5 separate regions of the Homo sapiens genome follow, and all the other regions are linked to region 4. Evidence: promoter capture Hi-C in 16 types of primary human blood cells and fetal thymus (Javierre and others, 2016). All regions are on one chromosome and are shown on one strand. The core of a region is centred on a gene start or on the middle of the fragment in contact, and the rest is flanking DNA. Distances in the headings are between cores, read along the strand shown. Region 1 has its middle 140 kb from the start of LINC02285. Region 2 has its middle 94 kb from the start of LINC02285. Region 3 has its middle 120 kb from the start of LINC02285. Region 4 holds the start of RTL1 (retrotransposon Gag like 1). Region 5 has its middle 130 kb from the start of LINC00524.

Region 1 (3,331 bases), core at 59-2,558, 350 kb after region 4:
TGAGGGTTAGGGACGCAGAGGTGGCTTTCTCAGAGCAGTCGCCCAGACCTCTGGAAGGAGCAGCGTCCGTGGAGACCAACCATCACATATCCTTTATTTATATATGTTTGAGATGTGCACTTAAGTTCAGACAGCTGAATTCACCCTACTCCTTACTCTATGGCACAACATTACCAATTGCCTATCATATTTTATGTCACCAATTCTCACCTTCTGTTCCCCATCCTCATCCCCACCATACTCGTGGGAAGGTTTCATATATGTTCTTGAATGGGTGTTTAACTTTGAAACACATGTAGCTTGTTTTTGTGTGTAAGTACTGCTTCCAATGTGAGTATGTTTTGTTGTGCCATCGAGCTCCTGCTTCTCACTTTTTTCATTCAACAATATGCCTTAAAAATCTGTCTGTGCTGCTTGTGGCTGTGTAGACTTCTAGTTCAGGGATTTTGACAATTTCACGGAATTCTGCACTGTGCATCTTCATTGTACTTACCCATGCCCCGGGGGTGGACACTTAAGTTGTCATCTCTGCAAAAGGAGCTGGGACAATGATGCCTTTGGTGTCCCCTGGCCCCTGGATCCGTGCTTGAGTTTCTCAGGGGCATGTTTTAAGGAGGGGGATTGTTGAGTCAAGAGCCACACAAAGTAACGTGTTAAGTGCAGCCAGATCACTATCAGCTGCTCCCAGCAACAATGAGTTAGGCTCCTGTTTCCTCACAGCTCGGTCAACATTAGTGTTACCCAACAATGTTTTGTTTTTTGCAAAATTGGTATCTTATTATTTTTGCATCTCCCTCCCAAATTGCTATTGAAATTGAGTATCACTTCACGTACTTGTTAGCTTTTCAGATTTCCCTTCTCCGAATTGCCCACTGTTTTCTGCAGGTCTCCCATCTCTTCCTCATTGATTTCTGACAGTCCCTTGTATGTTCTAGATAGTAATCCTTTATCAATGCCAGCGTTGTAAATAGCATATTACAGTCCGTAGCCCTCCATTAACTTTGAGTCTATTTTCTGCGGATGAAATATTTAATTCTGACTTAGTCAACCCCATTAGCATTTTATTCTATAGGCTGTGCTTTGTCAAAGACCCTATTTAAGAAGCCTCGCCTCCACCTGAAAATCACAGGGTATTCTGCACACTTCTAATTAATATTATAGTTTTATCCTCACACATAGTATTTTAATCCATTTATATTTAACCCATCCAGACTCTCTATGTGTGTGGTATGAGGTGTTAGGAAATCAATCTAATTCTCTCTCTGTACAGTGAGTCAGTTTTCCCTACATAGACAATAAAATAATGTATCCCCTCCCCTCTGGCTGGTGACTCCACCTCTATCACACACTATGTTTCCTGTGTGAAGGATACGGCTTTAAGCCCTCGATTCTGTTTTCATTACTATGATGTGGTAAGTGGAATTCTAAGATGCCCCCTAGAATGCATATGATCTCTTCTCCTTGAGCGCAAGGGCCCCCTGTGACCTCTGGAGGGGTATCCTCCTTTGATTAGGTGACTAATCGGGTGACTTGGAGTTAATAAAAAAAGGAGACAATCCCTGGAGCCTGCATCAGGTGAGCCCTGGGCCCTCCCTGAAAGACATTTGAGGTGTGAGAGGGCTCAGATGAGAGGAAGCATCCCCATGTTTGGCTTTTGGGTTTTGAAGATGAAGGGGCCACCTGGCAGGAATGCAGGCGACCTCCAGGAGCTGAGGGTCAGCAAGGAATGAGGGCCTCATCCCTACAGCCACAAGGAGCTCAATCCAGCCAGCATATGAATGGGCTGGGAAACGTGTTCTTCCCTGGGGCCATCACATAGGGTACAATAAATCCCTGGGGTCCTGAACCACCTAGGATGGAGGTGGCCAACACCTGCCGTATGAGGCATCCCTGGCCCTGCCTGACCGCAGAGAGCCAGCCGAGCTAGGCACTGGCTTTGCAAGACGTCTCCAGATCATGCAGGGTAAGTCCACTCCTCACCCCCAAAACATGTGCTCTTCTTTGTCAAAATAGACTTAGCAATTTGTGGACATTATGGCTTATATATATTTTAGAATGAGTTTGTCAAGTCCCTCAAAAAAATCCAGCTGGTATTTTGAACAAAATTACATGAAATTTATAGATTAATGTGGGAAGATTTGACATTTTTACAACTTAAAGCATCCATAAAAATGGTCTATCTCTCCATTTGTTCATGTTTTCTTTTATGTCCTTTTGATGTTTTCAATTTCATCTCTCCATTTTTATGTCTTCTTTTATGTCCTTTACGTTTTTTTAAAATTTTAATTTTTTTTTCCTCTATAAAGGTTTTCTGCATTTATTTCTGGCTTAATTTCTAGATACTTCATCATTTGGGTTCCTCTTGTGAATGTATCTCTTTTTCTATTATATTTCTAATTGGTTAATGCTGGTGTAGGGAAAGCCACTAATTTTAGTAAGTTGATCTTGTATTCAGCAATCTTGCTAAACTCTATTATTAGTTCCAATCAATTTTCTGTTCATTCTGTTGGGTTTCTATGTAGATGATATATAATCTGCGTGTGATGACAGCTGCGTCTCTTCCCTCCCTCTTCTCTTCCTATCTTTTCATTTTCTCATCTTATGGCACTAGCCAGAGCCTCTCGTGTTAGGTTGAATAGCTGCGGTGCTTCCGCTTGTCCTGTTTCCAACATTAAAGAGAATGAATTAAAGTTCATCTGCAGAGTAGTAGGTTTTCTACAAAGTTTTTAATATGCAAAGCTTTATTGCATTAAGGATATTCAGTTCCATTCAGAGTTTTCTGAGAAATTTAAAAAATCAGAAAGAGACGTTGAACTTCATCAAATCCTTTTCGGCATCTGTCAAGAGTTACTTTGCTCTGTTAGTCCGATAATATGGTAGATAAATTCATAGAATTTCTAATGTCAAATTGTTCTTACCCTCCTAGAATAAATCCAACTAGATTATTTTTAAACTACACAGTAGGGTTAATTAGCTAGTAGCTTATTTGGAATTTTGCATCTATTTTTATAAATGAAGTAGATCTATTTTTTTCTTATATTGGCCTAATCAGTATTTCGAATCAAGGTTATGTTAGCCTCATAAAATGAGTTGGGCAGATTTCCCTTACTTTCTACTTTCTAAAACAACTTCTCTGAAAGTATTTCATCTTTAAATATCTGGTAGAATCCTTATCTAAAGCTGTTTATGCCTGAAAATTTTTTGAGGGGAATATCTTTGCCATTTCCATTTCTAAAGAGCTCCAAGTCATTGTTATTCAATCTTCTCTATCTTTGCTTTATGTTTTTGATGGCTTGATCTGCCAATCTAACAGTTTCCAAGAGTTTTATTT
Region 2 (3,335 bases), core at 52-2,551, 310 kb after region 4:
GACCAGCCAGAGGTAGAGGTGAGAGCTCAGGCCTTTCCTGAACATGCACATGGCCTTCTGGATTCCTGGAAAGATGTTGGTTCGCAGCTCCTGTAGACGTGTCATTCCCCAGCTTTGTAATTTGAAGCTTGTTGGCTACCCTATTGTTTCGCAAACTCTTACCCACTGCTTTGGTTACCATGAAGCTAAACATTTGCCTATAAATGTTTCCAATAAATGCCCCACTGAAAATGCTTTTTGTACCAGGAGAACTCCAAGTCAGGTCAAATAAAGACAACCTTGCAAGTGGGTTTAGTGAACCATCAGACTTCAAGTAATGACAATTCTGTTAATGAGGCTTTGAAGTTGCTTCTAGCCATTTTTCCTTTCTGGCGGCTGCCAAGCTATTAGTCTTCACCCTGATAGTGGGTTATTGGTTTTCAAGTCTACCACAGGGCTGGGGAGTGTGGCATGGGGATAGAGTAAGTTAAAGTGCTGCAAGGCTTGTTCTTTGTAAGATTCTGCCGGTTTGCTTGAATAAATCCTCCTAGAATTGTTGCAGGCCTATGGTCAATTTCCAGAACTTTGAAATCGTTGATGCTGCCAATTTTTGCCGGTATTCTCATTGTTTTCAAGGAGACACTTTTTGGAGGTCCTGACTCTGCCGTTTTCACTGACTTTACCCTGTCCCTTACTATATTCCTAGGAGGAGCCCTGGGGAGGCCTGAGGCAGAAACCCATGGATGGCCTGAGGCAACTTTCTGGATTCCTCTTGGCCTCTTTTTCCATAGCTGTAAAAAGAGATGTTCAGCAAAGATGATCCCAGAGGGCTTTCTTGCCTCAAATATCCTTCTCTGTGCCTTGTCTGAGGCATCTTGAATACATAGTGTGAATCTTTTTATTCTCAGCATCCCCCAAAGCAGCAGCTTTCCAGCTTCTCTAGAACCCACTTAGAAATAAGGACCTGGCCCATGCGTCTAAGCAGACACATTGATTCTCTTGCATTACATATGCAACAAAAATTTCATCAGGCTACTGCTCCTGCTATAGGTACTATAACAGCAGCTACGGCTTTAGGAACACATTCTGATTTTTCTATTCTTATTTCTTTAAACAACACGTTGGTCATGGGCCACAAAAATGACTCCCTGGACTCCCTAATGTTTTATCATCCACAAGTTGAAAATCCCAGGCCTAGAGGTACCCAGTTCACATGCTGGCTGACCCTGAGCTGAGGGGGAGGATGAGTGCCCTAAAGGTGAGCAGGTAGGCACAAGTAAGCCTGAATTCAAGCTGTGGCTTGAAAGGTTGGTCCTTGGGACAGTGTTGATTTGGGGGGTCCAGAGGGAGTTGAAGGTTGAGGCATCAGAGCACTTGCCCTCCTGGTGTTCCTGGAGCTCTGGGCGGGTAAATCTTACATGGGAACTGCCTCACCCCTTGACCCCTGTATTAGGTAATTTATAAACAAATTTATAATTTTTTCTATGTTTGTAGAATTGCTTTGCTTAATTTCTCTGGCTAAAACCTAGGTAATTTTTAAAGAAAAAGAAGTTGAATGGACCCACAGTTCCACGCGGCTAGGGAAGCCTCACAATCATGGTGGAAGATGAAAGATATGTCTTACAGGGCGGCAGGCAAGAGAGAAAAAGAACCAACCAAAAGGGGAAACCCCTTATAAAACCATCAGATCTCATGAGACTTATTCACCACCACGAGAACAGTATAGGGGAAACCACCCCCATGATTCAATTATCTGCTACTGGGTCCCTCCCACAACATGTGGGAATTATGGGAGCTATACTGCAAGATGAGATTTGGGTGGGGACACAGCCAAACCGTATTACCCCCACTGCTATGGACTGTGTCAGGCCATCCCCAAATTTATATGTTGAAATTCTAACCCCCAATATGAAAGTATGTGGAGATGGGCCGGGCACGGTGGCTCAAGCCTGTAATCCCAGCACTTTGGGAGGCCGAGGCAGGTGGATCACAAGGTCAGGAGATCGAGACCATCCTGGCTAACACGGTGAAACCCTGTCTATACCAAAAATACAAAAAATAAAAATAAAAAATTAGCTGGGCGCGGTGGCAGGCACCTATAGTCCCAGCTACTCAGGAGGCTGAGGCAGGAGAATGGCATGAACCCGGGAGGCAGAACTTGCAGTGAGCCGAGATTGTGCCACTGCACTCCAGACTGGGCAACAGAGCAAGACTCCATCTCCAAAAATAAAAATAAAAATAAAATAAAAAAAGAAAGTATGTGGAGATGGGGCCTTTGGGAGGTAATTAGGTCATTGAGGGTGGAGGCCTTATGATGGGATTAGTGCCCTTATAAGAAGAGCTATGACCTCTCTCTCTCTCTCTTTCTCTCTCTGTCTCTCTCTCTCTCTCTCTCTCTCTCCACCATGTGAGAACACAGCAAGAAGATGGTCGTCTGCAACCCAGTAATAGAGCCCTCACCAGGAACTGAATCACTGGCACCTTGATCTTGGGTTTTCAAGCTTCCAGAACTGTGAGAAATCAACTTCCACTGTTTAAGTTGCCCAGTCTCAGGTGTTCTGTTACAGCAGCTCAAGTTGACTCATACACCCACGTAATATGAAGTCTCCAGACACTCCACGGAGACATCTGGGCCTGGACACTGAAGAGTTCTTTGAATCACTCAGCAAAGCCACCGCAACGTGCCAAGCCACTGGGGGATACATGATGAAGACCCCTTTCCTGCCGCTAAGATAGGTGTGCATGAAGACACCTCTTTCCACTTTCTAAAGCTCTTGCATGTTGTATCACATGAGTATCAAGTGTCAAGACACCTGTAAGGCAGGATGTTGGGGGGTGAGGGGGTTATTCTGGAAGGACCTGGTCCTCCCTATCCCTCCCTGAGCAAAGCTGGAAAGCCAGCAATGACATCTGAGCTCCCCTGGGTATCACTCAGGTAGGACGTGAGCTCACTCACTGGTCTCAGAGTAACATCACTTGGATCAAAAAGACAACCCCAGTGAAGTCAAAACTTCACTAAAAACATCCCCAACAACTGTTTGTTTCAGCTTCTTGACACTTGAAAATGATGACATCCCTTCTTCAAAAAGAAAAAAGAAAGAAAAATATTTCTTAATTGACAACAGCAGAACTCTTAGTAGAAGGTTCCATGATCTCTCTGGGAGCTTAGCTTTGCAAGAGAAAAGCTAAATCTGTGAAATCTCGATCTGCAGCAATCACAGCTGGCTCCATCGCATGGGCTGGGAGGCCGCGCTCACCCTGAGACATTTGGAAGATGTCGTATTTACCTAACACGCAGTCCTTCTAATTGAAGGGCAGTGGGTCCCGGGGCTGCATGTGAGATGCAGACCAGATGT
Region 3 (3,022 bases), core at 233-2,732, 330 kb after region 4:
ACCACAGAATCCCCCCAAACGGCAGCCTCATAGCATTGTCAGAACTCGTCTTCCTTACACAATTTCCGGATGAAATATCTGAAAAAAAAGAAAAACAATGCCCAGTTACGTTGGAATGTCTGACAAAGATGCAACATTTGAGATACGCTTATATGAAGACGTTATTTATTGTTGGTCTGAAATTCCAATGTAACAGAGTGTTCTGTGTTTTTATTTGCTGAGCCTGACAACAACAGCACTGTCTCTCCTCCAGGTTCCCGGTGGATTTTCTCTTTCCCAGGCACAGGGCTGTGCCTTGCTCCCCTGAGGGACGCCCATCTCAGGTGATGGGGTCTGTCCATCTCGGGCTGCCTCTGCCAGCTCCCCACTTCAGATGGACTCTAGCAGCTGGGCTTGCACAGCCCACTGCCCGGGGTCCCGCAGATGAAAACACCCCACTGGGGTTGTTAACTCAAAAGAATGTGCCTATCGGCTCAAAGTTCAGCTGCAGTCGCATTCATGGCCTCCGTCTACTGGACGGCCTCCCAGGGTCCTGGCACACATGCCAGGCCCACCTTCCCTCATTCAGGTGCCTCTGAGGGCCCGTTACCAGCAGGGCAGGAGGAAGTTGTGGAGTGTGCCAGATCCTTGCCTGCCTCCATCGCTGATGGTGGACCTTATCTTCTGCCTTTGTCCTCAGGCCCTCCCAGGGTGCATCCCAAAGGCATTGGTCTCAGCCCAGGCAGGTAAGCAGTGGATGTGTGACCTGTCACTGAATTCTGCAGCTCCTTCCCACTGCTGGTGGTAGGTGAGTGCCAGGCCCTGAGGACTTGATGCTGGTCTTGGGGGCTGCGGACTCAGCATGGGGTCCCCAAGAAGGGGTCCGAGTCCCCCTGTGATGGGCAGAGTCCATCCTTCTTAGAGTCTGAATTAAAACAGCCTCTCTGTTGTACAGAAACACTCGCTGCGGGGTTGGCTGAGCAGAACCTTTGCGTGGTCTCCCTCCCACCCACTCTGGCCCAGTGTGTCCTGCTCCCAAGACCTCATGGGTGCTGTGGCCTGCTCCAGATGCCCTCTCCACCGGCCAGCCCCATCCATGCCCATGGGCACACAGTGCCTAGTCTCACAAAGCAGCTGTCAGGTAAGGGGACTCCGCCTCCCCTGGCCTCCTTCCCAGGTGGTATCTGGAGGAGACACAAGTCCTAACTTCCACACTCCTCGGTTTCTTTTTAGGCAAACTTGGCTGATTTCAGAGCACTGGCCACCCCTGCCTGGACCCCTCAGCTCCGTGTCCCCAGGTCTCTGCCAGGCAGGAACACATGTCCAACGCCGCCGCCGCCTCCTGCAAGTGCTAAGGCCCCAGCCTGGACACTCAGCGCCCATCCTCCACAGGACAAAGCTCCAGCTTCCTGCAGGGCCCTCCTCTGCCTCCACATTTTTTTTTTTCCAGGCTGGAGTGCAGTGGCGCGATCTTGGCTCAATGCAAGCTCTGCCTCCCGGGTTCACACCATTCTCCTGCCTCAGCCTCCCAAGTAGCTGGGACTACAGGCACCAGCCACCACGCCCAGCTAATATTTTGTCTTTTTTTTTAGTAGAGACGGAGTTTCACCATGTTAGCCAGGGTGGTCTCGATCTCCTGACCTCGTGATCCGCCCTCCTCGGCCTCCCAAAGTGCTGGGATTACATGTCTCCACATTTTTTTTCACTGAGAAAGTCTGTTTTGAAATCTTTAAAACTAATGAATAAATTAATGATATGTTCCAGCTTCCAAAAGGACCAAGTTTCTAAATGGAGAAAATGGTGCCTTTGCAGCAAGAGCCAACCCCAAGGACCAAGTGCCCTAAAATGAATCTGCTGATGTTCAAAGGGCAGAAATGGGCTGGTCCTAAGGACCAGGCCACCCAGTGAAAGTGGGTCTCCAAGCGTGCCTCCTGCCACCCCGGTCTCAGAGGAGGCTGGCCACTCCTTCAAGGTGACCGTTCCTCAGAGGGTCTTGGTGCTCTCATCTGTAGAAAGAAACTGTCTCCAGCCCTCAGAAGTACTGTGAGGCAATGGGATGGGGGAGGCTACCAGGAGTCACTCAATTATCAAGCAAATGGGGTGGTCCCTGAAGAGGCAGAGAACTCCAGGTAGAGCCCAGAAGTCCCAGAAGAAGTCCAGGCACTTGCTGTGTGCTGATCAGGTGGGTGAGAGATGGGTCTCACGCTGGGCTCTGACCTTTCTTCTTCCCAAACCACCCACGAGCTGTTGGAAGTTGGGGCTGTGTCTCTGTCATGCCTGTACTCCTCTGGTGCCTACTGGGTGCCCAGTGAGTGATCAATGGATGCAAGAAGCAGCAAATACTGTTGGCTGCATCTGATATGTGGTTATCAAATATAAGGTTTCAAATGAACCTTTTAGGCCTAAGAGTCTTTTCTCAACAAATGATTCTTGAGGAGCTATTTTCACATTGTTCAAAAGGTTTATGTCTGCTCACCACTCAACAGGCAACGTCTGACATTTTAACTAACTGCTTCTTGTGGACTCATCCCTGGTGAGCACCCAGGTACCTACCACATAAACAGCTTGCAAGAGGTACTTGATGAATGAATGAATCCATCAATAAACAAAGGGGCTACATTGTAACAGGTGGCCTGCCAGTATGTCTCTTTCCTTAGACTGTGAGTTCCAGGAGGGCAGGAAGATTTTCGCATTTATTTTTTATTCCCTGGAGCAGGCAGGAAGGTCCCCGCATATTTCTTGAATGAACAAAGGGATGAATGAAGACACACTCGTACAAATAGATGCATTGCATCCTTCCTGTGGATCAAACCACCATGATCTCAACAAGCAGCACCTACGAAGCTCCTCTGACGATGAGAGCGGGACAGCTCCATCCTGTTGGCTGTACCAGGAAGCCCAGCCTGCTGCAGACTCATCCCATCACATACCTGTGTTTCTCAGAAACTTATCAGGAAGAAGGCAGTGTCTGTGACCTCAGCCCTTCTGCCAGGCGCTGCTGGCCCAGGTTCAGGGTCAGCTGCAATTCTCCCTCGGTGGGTGC
Region 4 (3,377 bases), core at 360-2,859:
CAGGGAGCTCCCTCTCTCCCCAGGCAGCCTGCTCAGGGCTCGCACGCAGAGCTGCTTTGCTGAGCCCTCCCCTGCCTTTTGCATCTGCCTCCTCGGCTGTGCAGCAGCCCCCTTGCCCCCTCTGCCCTCCGATCTCTGCAGGCTGTGGGCTCCCTCTCTTTTCAGTCCTCTCCTTTCTGTGCTGAATGGCAATACCCCCACCAATGGTGGGAACAGGATTGGGCGCCTCTACACCTGTCCTAACACCTCTGTCTCTGTTCTTTTAGACCTGGGACAGAGCCCTTTGCCCTGCTGTTCTGCTAAAAGCCCAGGGGAGGGCGTGGTGCTCCCCTCCTGGGGCCAGCTGCTCCATGTCTATCTGTTGAGCGGCTTCTCAGCCCTCTTGGGTTTTCTATGGCCCCTTTTCCAGTTGCTAGGGAGAACGCTCTGTATGCAGCCCCCTGCCTTTTCTGCAGGAGCTGCTGGCCTCCCGGCCAGCCCTGGTCAGCCCTGCAGTAGCAGCAGCAGCAGCAGCAGCAGCAGTAGGCAGCCACAGCAGGGCTGGGGGCTCCCGAGCCAGGCAGACCGGCTTGACTCCCTGCTCTCTAGCTGCAAGACAATTCCCTTTACTTTTCAGACTCGGCTTTTCCCCTGTGAAATGGAGATGAGAGTTTCTCCGTCACTGGCGTGAAGTGAGGACTAAATGAGATAAGTGTAGGCTTGCACACATCAGACACTTCATAAATGCTTGTGGAGTAGACGGTGGGACCCAGGGAGGGAGAGAGAGGTATGTAACAAGTGTCGCAAGAGAGAAAACAGCCTGGCCTTTCAAGACCCTGCTCCCAATACAAACGGGAACCTCTCCTGGCAGAGTCCCCTCTGCTGGCTTAATCGCACAAATCAAGTCAGCCGGAGGCAGCCCCCGGCCTGTGGAACTCACAGTAGATGCAGCAGGCAGCATAAATGACATGCAGAGCCCACATCTGCATTTAATAGACCGAGAATTTGCATTGTATATAACAGCACGAGGGGTAAAGCATGAAGGCATAAAGGAACAGTTTTTCCCGGCGGCTTCCTTGAAGGGCCAGCTTAGACAGGGGTCTGGGGAGGAGAAACTCAGCGGGGTCCGGGCATCCCATAGACTATGGGACAGACATCCATCCATGCACTCATTCTCCAAGCCACCACAGTGTACCTACCTTCCCCGGGCCCAGTCCCAAGCGTGAGGCTGGGGATGAAGTGATGCCGGTGGCTTAGTGATGCCGGTGGCTTCCTGTCCTCGAAGCTCAGTCGGTCTGGTGGGGGAAACAAACAGGGAATAAGACACTGGAAATTGAGGTGATCAAGAGGGGGTGCAGGCATGGAGATTTATGGAGCCCCGTCTTGGAGCCAAGTCCCGAACTGGGCTGTCTGCAAAGAACTCACCCGGGCAATAACCCTGCACACTGGTCTCATGAGCCCCATTAGATTGATGAGGAAACTGAGGCACAGAAAGGCAAAGTCCTATACTCACCGTCTCTCAGCTGGTGTGAGGCTGGGCCAGGATGGAACCCCAGACTCTCCGAGGCTCCCCACCACACCCTGCTGCTGAAGGCTGCTCAGCGAGGCTGTGCCGAGTGCTGGGGGGGTGTGGGTGGGCAGGGGACGGATTGATTAGTTATAAGCACCTCCCAGCGGTGCTTGAGATCCCAGCTCCTCTGTGGCCCAATCCGTTTGAAGGGCAGATTCAAAATTAGGTGGTAGCACCTATGGGCAGAGGCTTATGAAAATGGCATTATTAACCTGATGTGGAGAGGGCCCTGCCTGTCTGCAAGTAGATTGCAGATAGAGACGGAGGGGGCTGGGCTTGTTTGTGTGGACAGTGAGTTAGAGAGGACAGAGAACATCCAGGGGCCCTCCAGGGCTTCCGGACGGGGAGAACCAGATCTGGAGGGGCTGGACAAGTGGGAGGGGGAAGAGGGGTACGTCTTAAGGGTGCCCCGGCACCTCAGGGAAATGCCCCAGGCTGGACTTGGAGGAGGATCTCCAGCCTTGACTCTGACACAGACAGGGACTATGGCCCTCCCCGCACCTCGGTTTCCCATCTGTGAGATAAGAGATGGAAACCAAACGTCATTTCGAGAAAAGCCCCCATTCCCACCACCCTCCTGGCCCCCCCCTTCCCCCACCACCCCAATCACGTTTGCCAGACACCTGTCTGCTTGTCAGAGCAATATTCAACAGGAGAGTTCCTTCGCTTCCTCCCTGGAGGGAGAAGGGAGAGGTGTGGACGGGGAGAGGGGAGGGGAGAGGTGCCCCCCACTCAGAGAGGCCGCTGAGCAGAGTTCTGCATCGGGTAGGAGTTGGGCCACCGAAGATTTGTGCCAACTCACGGTGCGGTGGAATCAGACAGTCTGAATTCTTCAGACACCAGCCAAGAGTCTGTGGCGCCCCCACGTGCCACAAGGGGGCTGCCTGGGCCACATTTCTGAGCCCGAAAAGTGAGGAGGGGGACAGTCAAGAGGGACCGGCGCTTTTGCTCTGGCAGCGGCGCTTTTAACTGCGACAGATGCGTGCGGTGCGGCGGGGGAGCCGGCCGTGCCGGGGCTGGGGGCTGCTGGGCGGGGGTGGTCGGGGCGGGGGGCGGGGGCTGCAGGTTGCGCCCCTCCCTCACAGACGGCTGCGCTGCAATGCAGCAGGCTGCGGGAGCTGTCCCGGGAGCTGTCCTGTCCGGTGGCCGGCTTTCCAAAGTGGGGAACGAGAGATGAGGGAGGGAGCACTTCCAGGCGCTGCGTGGTGGCCAGGCGCCCAGGAAGCCGAGGGGCCCGAGACTCTGCAGCGGGGCCAGAAAGAGAAGAGTGGGGGAGGAGGCCGGGAGTGGTGCATGGACCAGGGGGTAGAGGGAGGTGGGTGTGGACCTGGGGTCGGGCGCCAGTCAGCTTGCAGCCTATGAAGGACGGAAAGGAGGGCTACAGAGATAGGGGAAGAGTGGGGCTGAGGATAGCCAGAGCGGCTTGGCACACAGTTTTAGGGTAAAAGCATCAACTCTTATCTTTCCAAAAGAAATAAAAAAGCCAAAAAAAAAAAAAAAGGCATTTGAAAGCTAGACAGCTGAATCCTTCCCAGCATGACTGAGCCGGTCACTCCAGGGTCTTCCTTCAAAGCGTGTCTAATGGGAGACAGCGTTGTCCCAGTAACCAAATTGGGACCAGAGTCCCAGGGAAGGGCTCATCAGGTGGCCGCTCTGCCTTGAAGAGTGGTACCCTCAGGCCCTTTTCCAGCCAGGGGTCAGGGAGAGAGCTGGAGGGCTCGGGGAGGCAGGGACTGGGAGGGAGAGTGGGGAGAGGAGCGCTGGGGGCTGCAGGAGGGTCTCTGGGCAGCTGGCGGGTGTCTCGTTCCGCAACACTCTGCACCCTGGT
Region 5 (3,189 bases), core at 272-2,771, 370 kb after region 4:
TTCAATTTTCCCTTTTTGTTCTTTTTACTTTGTTCCTCCTTTCCTGCCAAATCAAGTCATCATTTTAGCAACTGATGAATCGCCTCTTTTGGATATTTAGGCATATCTCTTTGCATGATTCTTAATATTTTAATCATTATTCTTTTAGTGGTTACTTTAAGGATTACAACATGCATCAAGTTGTCACATTTACCTTGAATTAATATTATACCACTTGATATAGAAGAATCTTACGATAGTATATTTTAACTTAATGCTCTCCCATCCCCTTTGCAATTGTTGTATATATTTTATTTCTACATGTAATAAACTCCACATTACATTGTTATATAAACAACCACTTACTTTAAAGAAATTAAGGAAAAAATAGTCTATTTACTATATACTCACCATTTCAGTGCTCTTCATTTCCTCTTCTACAGGTGTGTTTCTTTCCTTTTCTTTCCTTTTCTTTCCTTTTCTTTTCTTTTCTTTTCTTAGAGACAGAATCTGGCTCTGTCGCACAGGCTGGAGTGCAATGGCACAATCTTGGCTCACTGCAACCTCTACCTCCCAGGTTCAAGCGATTCTCCAGCCTCAGCCTCCCAAGTAGCCAGGACTACAGGCACCCGCCACCACGCCTGGCTAATTTTTGTATTATCAGTAGAGATGGGGTTTCACCATGTTGGCCAGGCTGGTATTGAACTCCTGACCTCAAGTGATTCACCCGCCTCAGCCTCCCAAAGTGTTGGGATTTTAGTCATGAGCCACTGCGCCCAGCCTACAGGTGTGTTTCTATCAAGTCTTACACACCTTCATCCTAAAGAACTTTCTTTAGCATTCCTTATAATGCATATCTGCTGCCAGTTCTTTCACTTCAATTTAATGACAGTGTGTTATTTTATCTTCATCTTTAAAGGATATTCTATGTTGAATGTTTCTTTCTTTCCGTATTTTACAGATACTTTTTTGTTGCCTTCTGGCTTACCTTGTTTCTTATGAGGAGAACAGCATCATTGTAGCATTGTTTCCCTATATTTCACGTGTCTTTGTTTTTTCCTTTTTATCTTTAAGCTTCAGCAGCTGAAAGTCAAAGAGTAAACTTGTGCCACACTCCAATATGCTTACTTGTGGTTTTCTTTGTGTTTATCCTGCTTGAGTTTCTCAGAGGATTTTAGATCAGTGGCTGGATGTTTTTAATAAAATTTGGGAAAGTTTTGGCAACTATTTCTTCAATTTTTTTTCTTGCTTCTTCTCTCTTACGTACTTCTGAGCTTCTGATTCCACATATAATAGACTGTTTAATAGTGTTCCATTGGTCACTGAGGCTCTCTCTATTCCTTGTTTTTGCCTTTTAAAATTCTCTCTGTGCTTTGGTTTAGGAAATTCTTTTGACATTTCTTCATTTTTGCTGATCATTTTCTCTCCACAATATATCCAATATCAAGTTAATCCTATCCAATAAATACTTGACTTCAGATAGTGATGTACATTAATTCTTTATTTATGATTTCTATATCTCTCTTAAAATTCCTCATCTCTTCACCTATTACAGACAGTCCCCAACTTACAATGATTCAACTTATGGGTTTGTTTTTGTTTTTGTTTTACTTTATGATGGGTTTGGTTTATAAGAGTATTAAGTGCATTTTTGACTTATAGTATTTTTAACTCACTGAGTTTGTGACATAACCTCACTATAAGTTTAATAAAGCATTTGTATATTCATCTTTACCTGTGAATTACTTACATGTTATAATAGGTATTTTAAGGTGATCGCTCTCTAATTCTAAGATCTGGATTGTTAATGCAGCCTACTTTTATTAAGAACAAACTATTTTTTTCTCTTGATAGGTCAAACGTTTCTACTTTTTGCATGCCTACTAATTTTTTATTGTATGCTGAACATCATGAATGATACATTTCAGACCTTTTGATTCTGTGTCTTCCTGTGAAGAATGTTGATATAAGTAACTTGTGGATCACCTGACTCCTGCAGAGACGTGGTTTTAAGCTTTGTCAGGGCAGGTCCATTTATATTCATGCCTTAGTCCTGGAATGTAGCCATTGATTCTGGGATGTGGCCCTTGTGGGTTTCTCATGGAATTCCAAAATGCTTATAAAGAAACAAAGATAAACTCTGAAAAGCAGAAAATAAAGAACAACTGATCATGTACAGGGAGAAGTGATTAATGGCTGACTTCTTATCAGAATTAATGATAACAAGAAGACAGTCAAATGCCATTCAATGTGCAAAAGAAAAAAACTCAACCAAAAATTCTATAGCTAGTAAATCCTTCAAAATTGAATGAGCAATAAAAACATTCTCAGACAAACAAAAAGAATGAGTTTCTAGAAGGTCTGCTCTATAAGAATGAGTAAAGGAAGTGCCTCAGGCTAACAGGAAATGTATCTACAGGAAGAAAGGAAGAACGCTGGAAATGGTAAATATGTGGATACTATGAAAGACTGAGTACACACATACACAAAAGTAAACACATGCTTAATGTTTTTTAAACACCAGCAAGACTGTCTAAGGCAAAAATTATAACACTGTATCATTTGATTTATTAAATACAGTAGACGGCTTCTACTTCTGGAAGATGGAGTAGATACTTTTTCTATTCACGCTTGCTAAGTACAGCTAAATGCCTTGGACGTTATATATAAAACAAACATAAGAAATACAAAAAAGTGAAAAGAAGAAAGAAAGCTGGCTAGGGACCTCAGGATCTCAAGAACACCATGGAATTGGCGTGTACAGCTAAATGCCTTGGACGTTATATATAAAACAAACATAAGAAATACAAAAAAGTGAAAAGAAGAAAGAAAGCTGGCTAGGGACCTCAGGATCTCAAGAACATCATGGAATTGAGTTCCCTGGGTTTTCTTTTTGCCTTAAATATCCCAGACTTGGTGTTAAATAATCTGGGAACATGGAAATGCCAATGTGTGCAGACCAAAACAGCCCCAACAAAAGCCTGTTCTCTCTTGGTAAAGGATGAGTAAATGGGCAAGCTAGTAATATAGAAAATTTTTAGACAAGAACCTCTCCACACCTGTCAAATACCACACAAACAGCTGCAGCCCTAACTCCACCCTTGCCCTTTAAAACTGCAGGGGGAGCGTAGCTCTCTAGCCCTGTGGGGTTGTAAGAAGGCACATCAGCCCCTCCACTGGGGTAGCGTCAAAGAAGGCTGAATGAGGAGT

Evidence for each region. The method cuts DNA at HindIII sites, captures the fragments that hold promoters and counts their contacts. A CHiCAGO score of 5 or more calls a contact.
Region 1: a contact is called between a fragment that was not itself captured here and the fragment with the promoter of RTL1 in region 4, in 2 of 17 cell types (M1 macrophages and M2 macrophages). The highest score is 5.3, in M1 macrophages.
Region 2: a contact is called between a fragment that was not itself captured here and the fragment with the promoter of RTL1 in region 4, in 4 of 17 cell types (endothelial precursors, M1 macrophages, M0 macrophages and 1 more). The highest score is 6.5, in endothelial precursors.
Region 3: a contact is called between a fragment that was not itself captured here and the fragment with the promoter of RTL1 in region 4, in 7 of 17 cell types (M2 macrophages, megakaryocytes, M1 macrophages and 4 more). The highest score is 15.8, in M2 macrophages.
Region 5: a fragment that was not itself captured here is called in contact with the fragment with the promoter of RTL1 in region 4 in 1 of 17 cell types (endothelial precursors); the score reaches 6.0 in endothelial precursors.

The regions. Positions count from the first base shown.
Region 1 is chr14:101,255,869-101,259,199 of GRCh38, forward strand. No RefSeq gene overlaps it. Among named protein-coding and RNA genes, the nearest start is that of LINC02285, 140 kb to the left of the region's middle. The HindIII fragment of the contact is 2,858 bases long and covers 1-2,737 here.
Region 2 is chr14:101,212,818-101,216,152 of GRCh38, forward strand. No RefSeq gene overlaps it. Among named protein-coding and RNA genes, the nearest start is that of LINC02285, 94 kb to the left of the region's middle. The HindIII fragment of the contact is 2,353 bases long and covers 126-2,478 here.
Region 3 is chr14:101,236,233-101,239,254 of GRCh38, forward strand. No RefSeq gene overlaps it. Among named protein-coding and RNA genes, the nearest start is that of LINC02285, 120 kb to the left of the region's middle. RefSeq lists an enhancer at 1-417. The HindIII fragment of the contact is 3,583 bases long and covers 1-3,022 here.
Region 4 is chr14:100,902,113-100,905,489 of GRCh38, forward strand. It overlaps RTL1 (retrotransposon Gag like 1), which reads right to left and starts at 1,610. Exons shown (of 4, transcript NM_001134888.3): 1 at 1,493-1,610; 2 at 1,179-1,274. All of the region lies in intron 5 of MEG8 (maternally expressed 8, small nucleolar RNA host gene), which reads left to right. The HindIII fragment of the contact is 7,837 bases long and covers 1-3,377 here.
Region 5 is chr14:101,274,496-101,277,684 of GRCh38, forward strand. No RefSeq gene overlaps it. Among named protein-coding and RNA genes, the nearest start is that of LINC00524, 130 kb to the right of the region's middle. The HindIII fragment of the contact is 940 bases long and covers 1,052-1,991 here.